Linked DNA regions of Homo sapiens: all the other regions are linked to region 3. Evidence: promoter capture Hi-C in 16 types of primary human blood cells and fetal thymus (Javierre and others, 2016). All regions are on one chromosome and are shown on one strand. Each heading gives the region's core, a stretch centred on a gene start or on the middle of the fragment in contact. The rest is flanking DNA. Distances are from core to core; before and after follow the strand shown.

Region 1 (4,411 bases), core at 1,899-4,398, 130 kb after region 3:
TGGGCATTTAGGTGGATTCCATGTCTTTGCTATTGTGGATAGTGCTGCGATGAACATATGCGTGCATGTGTCTTTATGGTAGAATAATTTATCTTCCTTTGGGTATATATCTATATCTATAAGTGTTCCCTTCTCTCAACAACCTTGCCAGCATCTGTTAACTTTTTGACTTTTTAATAATAGCCATTCTAACTGGTGTGAGATGGTATCTCACTGTGGTTTTGATTTGCATTTCTCTAATGACTAGTGATGATGAATATTTTTTTCATATGCTTTTTGGCCATGTATATGTCTTCTTTTGAAAATTGTCTGTTCATGTCCTTTGCCCATTTTTTAATGGGGTTGTTTTTTGCTTGTTAATTTCTTTATAGATTCTGGATATTAGACCTTTGTCAAATGCATAGTTTGCAAATATTTTCTCCTATTATGTTGGTTGTCTATTTACTCTGTTGATAGTTTCTTTTGCTATGCAGAAGCTCTTTAGTTTAATTAGGTTCCACTTACCAATTTTTGTTTTGGTTGCAATTGCTTTTTGTGTCTTTGTCATAAAATCTTTGCCAGGGCCTATGTCCAGAATAGTATTTCCTAGGTTTTCTTCAAGGGTGTTTATAGTTTTAGGTTTTACATTGATGTCTTTAATTCATCTTGAGTTGATTTTTATATATGGTGTAAGGAAGGGGTCTAGTTTCAATCTTCTGTATATGGCTAGCCAGTTATCCCAGCACCATTTATTGAAGATAAATGGTTGAAGATCAGATAGTTGTAGCTGTGTAGCTTTATTTCTGGGCTCTCTATTCTGTTCCTTTGGTCTATGTGTCTATTTTTACCTGTACCATGTTGTTTTGGTTACTGTAGCCTTATAGTACAGTTTGAAGTCAGATAATATGATTCCTCCAGGTTTCTTCTTTCTGCCTAGGATTGTTTTGGCTATTTGGGCTTTTTTTTTTTTTGTTTTACATGAATTTTAGAATTTTTTTTCTAATTCTGACCCTGGTAGTTTGATAGGAATAGCATTGAATCTGTAAATTGCTTTGGGCAGTATGGCCATTTTAACAATATTGATTCTTCCTATCCATGAGCATGAAATGTTTTTCCATTTGTTTGTGTCATGTCTGATTTCTTTCAGCAGTGTTTCCTAACTCTCATTGTAGAGGTCTTGCACCTCTGTTTAGCTGTATTTGTAGGTGTTTTTTTGTTTTGCTTTGTTTTGTGTGTGTGTGGCTATTGTGAATGGGATTTGTGTTCTTGATTTGGCATTCAGCTTGGACATTATTGGTGTATAGAAATGCTACTGATTTTTGTGTACTGATTTTGTATCTAGAAGCTTTGCTGAAGTTGTTTATCAGATCTAGCTTTTGGGCTGTGACTATGGGATTTTCTAGGTATAAAATTATATCACCTGCAGAGATAGTCTGACCTCCTGTCTTCCTATTTGGATGCCTTTTATTTCTTTCTCTTGCCTGCTTGCTCTGGTTAGGACTTCCTCTCTTTATTATGTATTATATTTTCCTTCTTTTCATGCCTGGTAATTTTTTATGGATACCACACATTGTGAATTTTACCATTTGAATGGCTGGATATATTTTTGTTTCTATAAATAAGAAACAAAAGTTAAGTTACTTGGAAACAGTTTGGTCCTTCAAATTTTGCTTTTTAAGATATGATGGGTGGCACCAGAGCAGTGTTTAGTTTAGGACCAATTTTACTACACCACTGAGGCAAAACCTTTCTGAGTACTCTACCCAGTATCCAATAAATTATGATGTTTTCTACTCTAGCTGTTAGGAACAGGGGTTCTTCCTAACTCGGGGTGATCCTGGGATTATTCGCTTTCATTCCTGCAGGGAGGTCCATCCTCTGCCTCAGGTAGTTTCCTCACATACAGGTGCTGATCATAACTCAGCTAAGGATCTGAGGGGAGGCTGTTCCTGATTGTCAGGGCTCCCCTGCCCCCTTCTCTCTCTAGCTCTTGCCTTGCTAGGTGAAGGGGTGGCCTGCCCCTCCACACCTGTGGGTGTTTCTCGTCTGGTGGGACGAGAGACTGAGAAAAGAAAGAGACACAGAGACAAAGCATAGAGAAAGAAAAGTGGGCCCAGGGGACCGGGCGCTCAGTATACGGAGGACCCGCGCCGGCACTGGTCTCTGAGTTCCCTCAGTATTTATTGATCATTATCTCTACCATCTCAGAGAGGGGGATGTGGCAGGACAATAGGGTAATAGTGGGGAGAAGGTCAGCAGGAAAACATGTGACAAATGTCTCTGTGTCATAAACAAGGTTAAGAAAAAGGTGCTGTGCTTTGATGTGCCAATACATAAACATCTTGGTGCATTAAAGAGCAGTATTGCCACCAGCATGTCTCACCTCCAGCCATAAGGTGGTTTTCTCCTGTCTCAGTAGATGGAACATACAATTGGGTTTTACACCGAGACATTCCATTGCCCAGGGATGAGCAGGAGACAGATGCCTTCCTCAGAGTTATCTCAACTGCAAAGAGGCCTTCCTCTTTTACTAATCCTCCTCAGCACAGACCCTTTACGGGTGTTGGGCTGGGGGATGGTTAGGTCTTTCCCCTCCCATGAGGCCATATCCCAGGCTATCACTTGGGGAGAAACCTTGGACAATATGTGGCTTTCCTAGGCAGAGGTCCCTGCGGCCTTCCGCAGTGTATTGTGTCCCTGGGTACTTGAGATTAGAGAGTAGTGATGACTTTTAACAAGCATACTGCCTTCAAGCACTTGTTTAACAAAGCACATCCTGCATAGCCCTAAATCCATTAAACCTTGAGTTAACACATCACAGGTCTCTGCAAGCACAGGGTTGGGGCTAGGGTTACAGATTAACAGCATCTCAAGGCAGAAGAATTTTTCTTAGTACACAACAAAATGGAGTCTCTTATGTCTACTTCTTTCTACATAGACACAGTAACAGTCTGATCTCTCTTTCTTTTCCCCACAGCTAGGCTAGTAGTCTGTCTTGAAAACTCTAGCTGCCTTGGTCTTTTAGGATCCAGTTCCATTTATTCAATCCTGAGAGTCCACTGGACTCTGCCAGTTTCCGCTCCCTGAGTCACAGCCTGGAAACCCTTTGCCGGGAGGAGGCCAGGACAGTCCTAGGGTTCAGCTCATTTTGTTTCATCTTGCAAACATCATGGTCCTGCATTGCTTCAGGTTCATGGTCTTGAAAACTATTGTTCTTTTTATATAGCCATTCCTTGGTATTCACGAGGGATTTGTTCCAAGACCCTTGAAGATGCCAAAATCTGGAGATGCTCAAATCCCTCACGTAAAATGGCAAGATATTTGCATATAACCTATGCACATCCTCCTGTAGACATGAAAACATCTCTAGATTACTTATAATACCTAATATAATGTAAATGCTATGTAAATGGTTGTTATACTGTATTTTTAAATTGTATTTTTATTGTATTTTTTCAAATGTTTTTGATCCATGGTTGGTTGAATCCATGGATGTAGAAGTCAAGTATAAGGAAGGCCAACTATAGCTTGTCAGATTATGTAGTTGTTTCAGGTTACAGGATAAATCCATCCCTGTAACTCCATTCCCATTGGAAGAGGAAATTTCCACTTTATATTTTTGCTAGCATAATACCATTTTTTCTGGTATTTTTCAAAATCACAACCTAACATTGTAATTCTAAAGTATTTAGAGTTATACATCTGTTTAAAATTTCAAATTGGATGAACATGCAATCTCCCCACTAAGACAGGCATTTGCCTTTGTCTGGGTGAGGCTGACCATTGTCTTTTGTGTTTAGCAGTTCCTTATAATCCCTCCATAACCAGCCTGGGTCTCTCTCCACTTCCAGAAGCCTTGACAGACTGTTTTAGAACTGGAGAGATGAGGAGTGGGGGTGAGATGCTAAGAACACACAGGAGAGGGTATGGCAGGAAGGAGGACAAAAGGGCAGGAGTTCCTAGGGCCAAGTCCCACCACTCTTCACCCCCAGCCTGACCACCTCCCTCCCCTCCGGGGCACACATCTCTCTGCTCCTCTTTACAGAGCCTCTTTATTTAACATGTCATGTGGTTCTGGTATCACAGTCACTACTCTTGTTGTGTGGAAGGGCAGAATCTCAGGGGCCCAGGACAGAATAGAAGACTGTTGGTGAGGCAGGACTTAGTCCCTTAGGGAGTTACCAGGCCAGCCCTGCCCCATGCTGTGGCAATCACAGGAGTGTGTGATACAGAGTGCTTGGAGAATAGGACCAGACCACACTTGACAAAATGGTGCCTATGGGGGTGCAACAATAACATGGCATTTTAGGAAGAGGTGGACAGGACAATGAGTTGCTTTGGGGGCTTTGGTCTTGTACACCATGCCTAGGTTCTGAGAGGGCAACTGTACCTTGCAGAATGACTGCCATCTGCCAGGCACAGTGCTAGGCTT
Region 2 (4,110 bases), core at 1,514-4,013, 250 kb before region 3:
GTGTGGTCATTAGTTGCCGTTAGAGTGATTAATAAGAGTAACAGAGATAATTATAATTCTTGCTTTGAAAAGCCTTGCTTTTGAGAGGAATTATCCTTGTGCAAATGTCTCCCCACCCTCTTGGTAAATCGTCTTTGGCAGCCAGACCTGTAGCTTCTGGGTTTGCCTGTGGTCTCCGGGCTGCTGTTGCTGACACACCTGGTCTGCTGCCCGTCTCTCCTGAGTTTGGCTCATCTGATTCCTGGGCCTTCTTGCTTTTCTCCACTCTTTCTCATTTTCTGATGGTCTCTCTCTGTTCTCTTTTCCGTCTTCCTTTTGTCTTCCCCCCTTTCAACATTTCAATCTCTTTCTGTTTCTCATTGTCCCTTTCTTTGTGTGCCTTTTCTTACCTCTGTCTCTTCTACCTCTCTATTCCCACCCCATTTGTTTCAGACCTGAAGTCTCCATTCAGTTTGATCTTCCCTTTCGTTCTTTTACCTAAAAATTTATTAGTTTCTATCAGGGAAAATAAAAGACAAGTAGATTGAAAATGAATGCATCCAGTTCTTGCTATGAGAAGGGAAAGAGACGCTTACTGTGTGTCCACACCAGGCGATAGCCTGCCATAGTCACACAATGGGGAGGCCTGCTTGGTGCCAGGGCCCATGCTTACCACCCACACTGCCTGTACAAACAGGACATTTTCTGACCCAGAGTCCATGTGCAATGGTGACAGAATGACTTCTGTGGTGACACTCTTCTGATGACGTGGTCTTTGCCCCTCAGCGTCAAGGTTTGTCTTGACACTGCCTGGGAGGAGTTTCCTGGAAAGTGTCCACAGCCATGATTACAGATAAGAGGAGACTGCCAGAGTCATTTGAAGGCATCAAGTTGTCTGTAGGAGAAGCTTGGTGATTGGAGGAGTTGCTGCTGGGGTGGCTATCCTGAGTGCACATTTGGACTTTGCCTGCTCTGTGACCTCAGGCATCTTACCAAATCCCTCTGAGCCTCAGCAGTGGGATCTAGTGGTCACCATTTCTTGGATGTGTCATAAGGATACGGTGTGGCTCAGGGAAGCACTGGATTATAATGTGTTTTAAGCTCATTCTGAAGAAAAGCACCGTGCAAATCCCAGTTATTATGTTTATTATGAGGTTCAGCATGATTAAATGCAAAGAATTTGTTCCATCTGAATGAGGCTTTTAAAAATACACTGGGGCCAGTAATTACAGAAATGTAGGCTCCCCTAAACATGTTCCCAATTAGGAAGGGATGTAACTGAATGAACTGGGGCATGGCGGGGGACTCTCAGATCCTTGACATGTTCTTGGTCAGCTCAGTCAAGCTTTTCTTGATCAGAAAATGGAAAAAAGCAGAAAATTCTCATCCCTTGTGTCTTTCTTAGAAGAAGATAATAAACCCAGTGGCCAAAGAATGTTAACATTTAACTGATTTTCCTTATGTATCAGGACCTTTTTCTGAAACTATGATTGTTAAGGATTTTAAGTAAGACCCAAATCAGTATGGGGTATGATTTTCTTGTTTGTGATTAAAACATATGGAAGTAATTATAGATCTCAAAGTAATTTTTATTTATACACAAATAATACATACGTTCCTGATCCTTGAAAAAATTGAAACATTACTTGATGACATCTAAGACTTCTTTGACTACTACTGTCTCTCCTGATTCCCTTTTACTTTTCTCAGAGGCAATGACCATTATCAGTTTGGTGTTTTTCTTTCTGAGCTTTTCCGTCTTTAGAAGTAGAGAAAACCAAGGTGGACATGGTACGCAAGTCTCCACATGGTTTTCTTCTGTGGTTTAGCCTCATCTCCTGGGCCAGATCATATGCTTCTTGAGACCAGAAACCACATGAACTCCTTGATCTGATTCCACACCACTCCCAGGCCTGGAATAGAATCATGGAGAAGTGAGGGGAATGGTGAGGAACAGTTAACTAAACGCTTGTTTGAGAAAAATTATTGTCCTGCAGTTTACTCAAATAGAGCTAGTAACTCGGCTGGGCAAGTTTCAGATTCTGTGTTTCAAAACCACCTCAACCCACCCAGTGGAAACCAGAATATTCTCATGGCTTTACAAAAACGCCTGAGCTTTAAGCTTGATCTAAAGGGCTCAGCAAAGAAGCATTGCTCCTGAGAGGCTTCCTGTCTGCCTCAAGCTCCCTGTCTCAGCCTCCAGGTAGCCTCATCCTCATGCTCCACTTGCCCAGACATGGACCTCAAAGAAACTCCTGTCCACCTTCTTGGGGGTCCCTTCAGGGGTAGTTGTGTGTCATCAGCCACCCTCAGAGTTGGCTCTGAAACATTCCCCGGTTTCTCCTTCAGTGGTTTGTGGAGGTCAGGAAGAAATGCATGTGATATTTTCTGAAGGTTCTGGACAATCCTAATGTTGTCATGAAGCCTGCTGGCCCCTTTAGGCAACATACACACCCAGACATATATCGATAGTGATGGAAGAATTCCATCTTTTCTTCAAATTCTCTTCTCTATTTTTACTTTCTTTCCTTAAAATGGTGCCTAGGATGGGTCCTTGTGGAAAGGACAGTGCTGGGGTTGCAACTCCTATCTCAGTGCTTTGACAAGCCCTCAAGAAATAAGGTTTATGGCTGTTTTTAGGAGACTCCATCACAGGCCCTCCTCACCATCCAGGCTTCTCTCCTGTTTGCCCATATCTGGAATAGGACTGACTGTACTCCTGGCTCTCTGAGCACCACACCCTCTCGCCTGCCTCCATGCCTTTGTTAATGCTGGTCCTTTCGGCCTGAGAGGAACCAGGCCCATCCCTGCTGGCCAAGCTCCATCTTCTCCTGGGAGCCTTCCCTGGTGACTTGGTTGGGTCCACACTTCGCTGACCTCCTCTTTTCCCACTGTCACCATCATTGCTTATGACATTCCTACCATACTATCCTCCTTGTTGTTCCTTGAATGTGCTAGGCATGCCCATCTCCAGGCCTTAGTACGTGCCGTTTCCTCTGTGAAGTGCTCTTTTCTGAAGTGCATGGTTTCCTTTCTCACCTTCTGCAGGTCTCTGTTCGGGTGTCATCTGACCTTCCTCTCTTAAACAGCAACACTCCCACTTCCCCTGACTCCCTCCCTACCCTCCTACTCTGCTTTTTACTCTCCCTAACATTTATCCCACATGAGTTAGTATACAATTGTTTGTCTATCTGTTTATTTTCTATTTTCCCCATTAGAATGTAGAAACATGAGGGCGGGAACTTGGTCTGCTTTGTTCACCGCTTTATTCCCAACACCTAGAAATTGCTTACCAGGTGGTAGTCATGTAGTAAATATTTGTTGAAAAACAAATCAACAACTCTAACTACCATATTTTGCCCCCCTGAAAAAAAAGTTTCTACACTGATTATGGGTGCCATGCCCAGCCAGGCCTGCACTGAGGCATTTGGCAGGAGTTGGATGATGAAGCTTTATACATGCCCTGAGTTGTGTGCTCTCCAGTTGTTTCATGAGCAGGTCTTGTCTTAATTATATTGTGAGCTACTTGGGGGTAGAAATCAAATTTTGTTCTTCTTCTTAACTACTTAACACTTGAAATGCGTCTGGGTTCCATTAGTGATTATTTGTTTATTGTTCCAAAAAAGAACTAAAGGTTGCCAATGGGGGAGTCACAGTGTGTGGTCATTAACTGCTTATTGACTGATTGATTAGTGATGGCAAATCCTGATGAGGTAGATTGACTCTAAGGACAGAGTGGATGTGGCTGTTGGAAGATGCATTTGGGTCCTTATGTAAAATTCTGGGTTCTCCTTGCAGGGTGTGATATCTCTGACTGGTGTCTGAATGTCCGTGGCTCTTTCTTCCACCTTCCTAACCTAGATTCTGACAAATATATTCCTGGCATTAAGAGTGGTTGTAAAACTAGAAACATATATCACTGTATATAAACCAAAGTATGTCTTTATCCACTACTTATAGTCTTTCAGAGAGACTTAATTTTCCCTTTTTAGTGTTATTCATTTACAGCCTCTTCATATAGATTTGAAGCAGCTTATCATATACAGTAAAGTGGTTAAATAAAAAAGGTAGAAAATAAGAACTAGGAAAAAGGAAAATTCAAATTTGTCAACCATGAGGGTCAACACAATT
Region 3 (4,435 bases), core at 261-2,760:
TTGGAAAATTGTTTGACAGTATCTAAGTCCTAGCGATTTACTCTTAGGAATATTCCCAACTGAAATATGTACATATGTGTAACCAAAAGTAGTACACAAAAAAGTGCATAGCCCTATTATTTATAATACCCCCCAAAATGGAAGAGACCCAAGTATCTACCCATAGACAAATGGATGAATAAATTGTTATATTTTCAGATAACATAATAGTCAGTGTTGGGAGATGAAGGTAGACTGGACTAGGATGATAATGGCAGAGAGGGGGATAAATGGATAGATTTGGCAGGTTTGTAGGCAGAGTTGACTGGACGTGGTGATGAATCAGTGTGATGAGAAAACAGGAATCATGGATAACTTCTAGATTTTGGTATGAGCAAACAGTTATTTCTCGTTATTTCTATTATTTCCATCATCTTTCACATAAAAGAATGCAGTCTCTCCCTGCTCCTGCTCTTGCCTTCCTATATTCCTGTTTTCCACGTAGCAGCCCAGAGTGGTCTTTTAAAAACATAGATTATCTTACTCCTCCTGCTTAATACCCCTTTAAGTACATGCTAAAATCTAACATGTACTGTTTTAATTCTACTGTGCCCCTCTTTACATGAGCTACGCTGTCTAGCTCTCTGACATCACCATATACCACTGGTCCTCTTTTTAACTATGTATGCTCTAAGGCACACTAGCTTCTTTTTGCTCTTTGGGACAAGTTTACTCTTGCTTAGAATCTTGCCCTTTGCCTTGGCTAGTTTCTTTTGTGTTTAAGATCTCAACTCAAAGATAATTCCCTAGAGAGGTCTTCCCCTGGCCATCTAATTTAAAGCACTTTCCTCCTCCCTCCCATCACTTTACTACAAGCTTGTCCAATCTGTGGCCCAGGACAGCTTTGAATGTGGCCCAACACAAATTTGTAAACTTTCTTAAAACATTACGAGTTTTTTTTTAAGCTTATCAGCTATTATTAGTGTCAGTGTGTTTTATGTGTGGCCCAAGACAATTCTTTTTCCATTATGACCCAGGGAAGCCAAAAGACGGGACACCCCTGCTCTACTACATCACTCTTTTATTTTCTTCATTGTTCTTATCACTATTTAAAATTATCTTATTTGTTTATTGTTGTTTACTAAATGTTTCCCCCTATTAAAGGTAAGCTGCTAGGAGTTTATATAGTTCACTGCTGCATAGATAGAGCCAAGACCAAGTAGAAGGTAGTTAATACATATTTGTTAAGTAAATGAATAAATGGACAATCTAACAATACAGAGTATTGAGTAGCTCCATGGAAAGCAAATTTATGCCCTCATTTTCCTTCTATATAGAAATAAACCTTTTAGTGACAGTGCCACTAAAAAGAAAGAGAAAAACCCTAAACTTCCAGAACCTTTTGCCTTACAGTACACATACATTCAGATTTCCACCTTGGTTAATAGTAAGTAGACAAAATTAAATGTATTCCTTCTTACCTTGTTCACCAAAAGAGCAAATAGAATGTAGCCTGAAGGAGCCTGCTGGGTACTGAAGGCTGAGATAATGGCCCTTTTATAGCAGGCCCCATGCAGGGAGGAGCCACCCTCTGTGGGATGGTCTGATTCATTCCTAACCAAACCTAGATCCACCCATATCTCCACCTCTATTTCTCCAGCAACCTGTGTTTACTTCCCAGCTTCCTCACGTACTCATCTGTACTTGTTTCAGCAAGTTCCAAATTTGGGTTTACATATTGGAAATTTTATGGAAGGGTCCCTTTGGCTAATACAGGTTGTTTGTGTGCAGGGCCCATACCTACTTTTCTGTAACCCCACTTTGGCTTGACAGGTGCTTGGTAAATATCTATTGATAAATACACTTCCTGATCCTTGTCTCTAGAAGAGTAGGACATATTAATACGTTTATAAGAACTTGAAATTCAATTTATGATAGGAAAACATCACAAGCATCTACATATATGTTCTTTTTTAATCTATGTATTCCATCTTTGGGTACTGAAGAACTTGCCATGAGATGAATGCCGTCTTCTAGAAATTATGGTCAGTAGAGGATAGGCAAATTTAATTTTAATTTTTCAAAGCAGAGCAAGAATGTGAACAATTGAACTAGAAGTGGTGATCACTAGGAGCATGAGTTTAATTAGGCAAGACTCATTAGTGTAATTTTACTTTGTTTTCAAGGTTATTACATCGTGGCATCAGAGACATGTTCCACATACTCTTCCTTCTTAAACCATGAATTTTCTTTTATTGCCATAAATATACAGGGGACTCCTATCCCTGGTCTGTCTTATGATATACACACTGTTATGTTGAGCAGATTGCATCTCCATATGGATGTCCCATGGTTATCTCAATCCATAGTGTTGAAAACTGAACTTACATTGTGCCTCCTACCAAAATGTACTATCCTCCAGAAGCCCATATATTGGTAATGATGCCCCCACACACTGGGTGTCTCAAGCTAGACAAAGTCATTTTCATTTCTCCTTTTCCTTAACCCCTCATGCTCATGTCACATCGTATCAATTATACTCAGGCTTAGATTTTGTTATGTAGGCCTATTCTCTACCTCCAGTGCTATAATTTTAGTTCTGGACCTGACCATCTTTCAATTGGGTATTGGTAAAGAAAAAAAAGTGTCGTAACTAGCCTCTCTCTCTACTATTAAGCTGGCTTACCATCTTATGTCATTCGCTGTGCTGGTTTCTTCTTGCCTGCAGAATTTCAGACTTTTTTACCTGACGTACAAGCCCCTTTACAATAGGCATGAATCTGTATCTTTTCAATTGTCCCTCTTATTACCTGTATCTCATGGAAAAGTCACTCTAGAATGAGCAATATTTCTTGGACGAGCCCATATTGGTCCACTACTGTTCAAAATCTTTGCGTGCTATCCTCCACTACCTTGACTTGAGAGACCCTCATCCTTAACTTCTCTTTATCTTTTAAGATTCTTCAAAATTACCACCTCCTGCATAAAGCCTTACCTGACATCTCCAGATTTATCAGTGTTCCCTCACATACTCTGTATTTACCTCTCAATAGCACTGGTGATATTTTATATTAATTACTTATTTATATGTGTGCCCCCTGCCCCCTGGTGCCTTGAATCCTGTGTTTCTTCTCACCCTAGCATTGACTGGGTCTGAGTCATCCTTTGTGTCCTTGGGCCCTACAGCAATGCCTGGGACATGATCAAATAAGGGATGCAAGGGTGTGCCAATCTTGTTCAGAGTCAAAGAGATAAAAATATGCCCGAGTTTTTAAAACTGTGTTTAATGTCCTCGTTCTTAACCTTATTAGACCATTGATTCTTTCTTTTGTGGAGTATTGGTTAACATCTGTAGAACACAGATATTCATTTTCTCCTTTTTTCTTCTTGGGTCTAATTTTTTTATGCCAGTAGTTATTGCATTTTTGTCTCTACCATGATGTAATAATGATAGTAATCTATATTGTATACCCATTATGTGCTAGGAATGTGCTAAGATTTTGCGTGTATTAATTTTAATCATCAGGACAACCCTTTGAGGTCATTATTATTCCTCTATTTTAGAGATGAGGGAACTGATACTGATAAGGCACCCAAGGTCACCAAGCAAGTAAGTTACAGAACTAGGATTTAATCTGAGGTTATTCAGACTCCAACTCCCACATTATTTCCACCATGGCATATTGTTCTGGGTGTGAACTTTTATCCTTTTTTTGTTAACCTTATTTATATTTTTAATGTTTTAAACAGTGATTTCTCTCAAAGTACCTATGTCTGGGTGAACTTAACTGTGGAAATCATTGCAGGATCAGCAGAAAGACTAGACCATGGACTATGAGTGAGTGAAGAAGGTAGCATTGAGAGAGTGTCAAGAATGAGGCAATCTTGGATATGACCTTCTTTGGGGCCAAAAGACCCCAAATCTTGCAGAATTATGTCAATATGGAGGGTATTGTTTAGTGGTCTGCTCTAGGACTTTTTTCCTGACCATGTTGTGCTCATTGTATTTTATCAATAACTTAGGTGAAAATTTGGATAGATGGCAAATATTTTTAGGATAGACTGAGGATTCAAGAAGATTTTATCATGTTGCACCAATGGCTCAAATCTGATAAATGAATATTATTGAAAAAGTAAAATTCTGACTCCAGTTCCAAATTACACTTTACAAGGATAGGGTAGAAGACATGAGTAAAAAAAGCAATATTGTGGCAGTGGCAGAGTGATGCCATAGCCAAAAAGATAATGTGATATTAGGCTGCATTAAAATAAACACATTAGCTGGAACAAAATAGGTGGTGAGGTACTTGGCTCAGCATTTATCAAACTATTTCTGTAGCTCTTTGTTCAGTTCTGATGACCATTTTTCAGTAAGGATATGGACAAATTGGTATGTGTTCTGAGTAAAGTAGATAGAATGATTGTCTAGATGAGTGGCAAACAGAACTCAGTGGGA

Evidence for each region. Contacts are between HindIII fragments. The CHiCAGO score rates a contact against its expected background, and 5 or more counts as called.
Region 1: a fragment that was not itself captured here is called in contact with the fragment with the promoter of FLG in region 3 in 2 of 17 cell types (total CD4 T cells and activated CD4 T cells); the score reaches 6.3 in total CD4 T cells.
Region 2: a contact is called between a fragment that was not itself captured here and the fragment with the promoter of FLG in region 3, in 5 of 17 cell types (total CD8 T cells, naive CD8 T cells, non-activated CD4 T cells and 2 more). The highest score is 5.6, in total CD8 T cells.

What each region holds. Positions count from the first base shown.
Region 1 is chr1:152,453,127-152,457,537 of GRCh38, forward strand. No RefSeq gene overlaps it. Among named protein-coding and RNA genes, the nearest start is that of CRNN, 41 kb to the left of the region's middle. The HindIII fragment of the contact is 3,652 bases long and covers 1,323-4,411 here.
Region 2 is chr1:152,070,464-152,074,573 of GRCh38, forward strand. No RefSeq gene overlaps it. Among named protein-coding and RNA genes, the nearest start is that of TCHHL1, 17 kb to the right of the region's middle. The HindIII fragment of the contact is 1,328 bases long and covers 2,100-3,427 here.
Region 3 is chr1:152,323,729-152,328,163 of GRCh38, forward strand. FLG (filaggrin) reads right to left here and starts at 1,511. Exons shown (of 3, transcript NM_002016.2): 1 at 1,461-1,511. The region is part of intron 3 of CCDST (cervical cancer associated DHX9 suppressive transcript); the gene reads left to right. The HindIII fragment of the contact is 6,016 bases long and covers 943-4,435 here.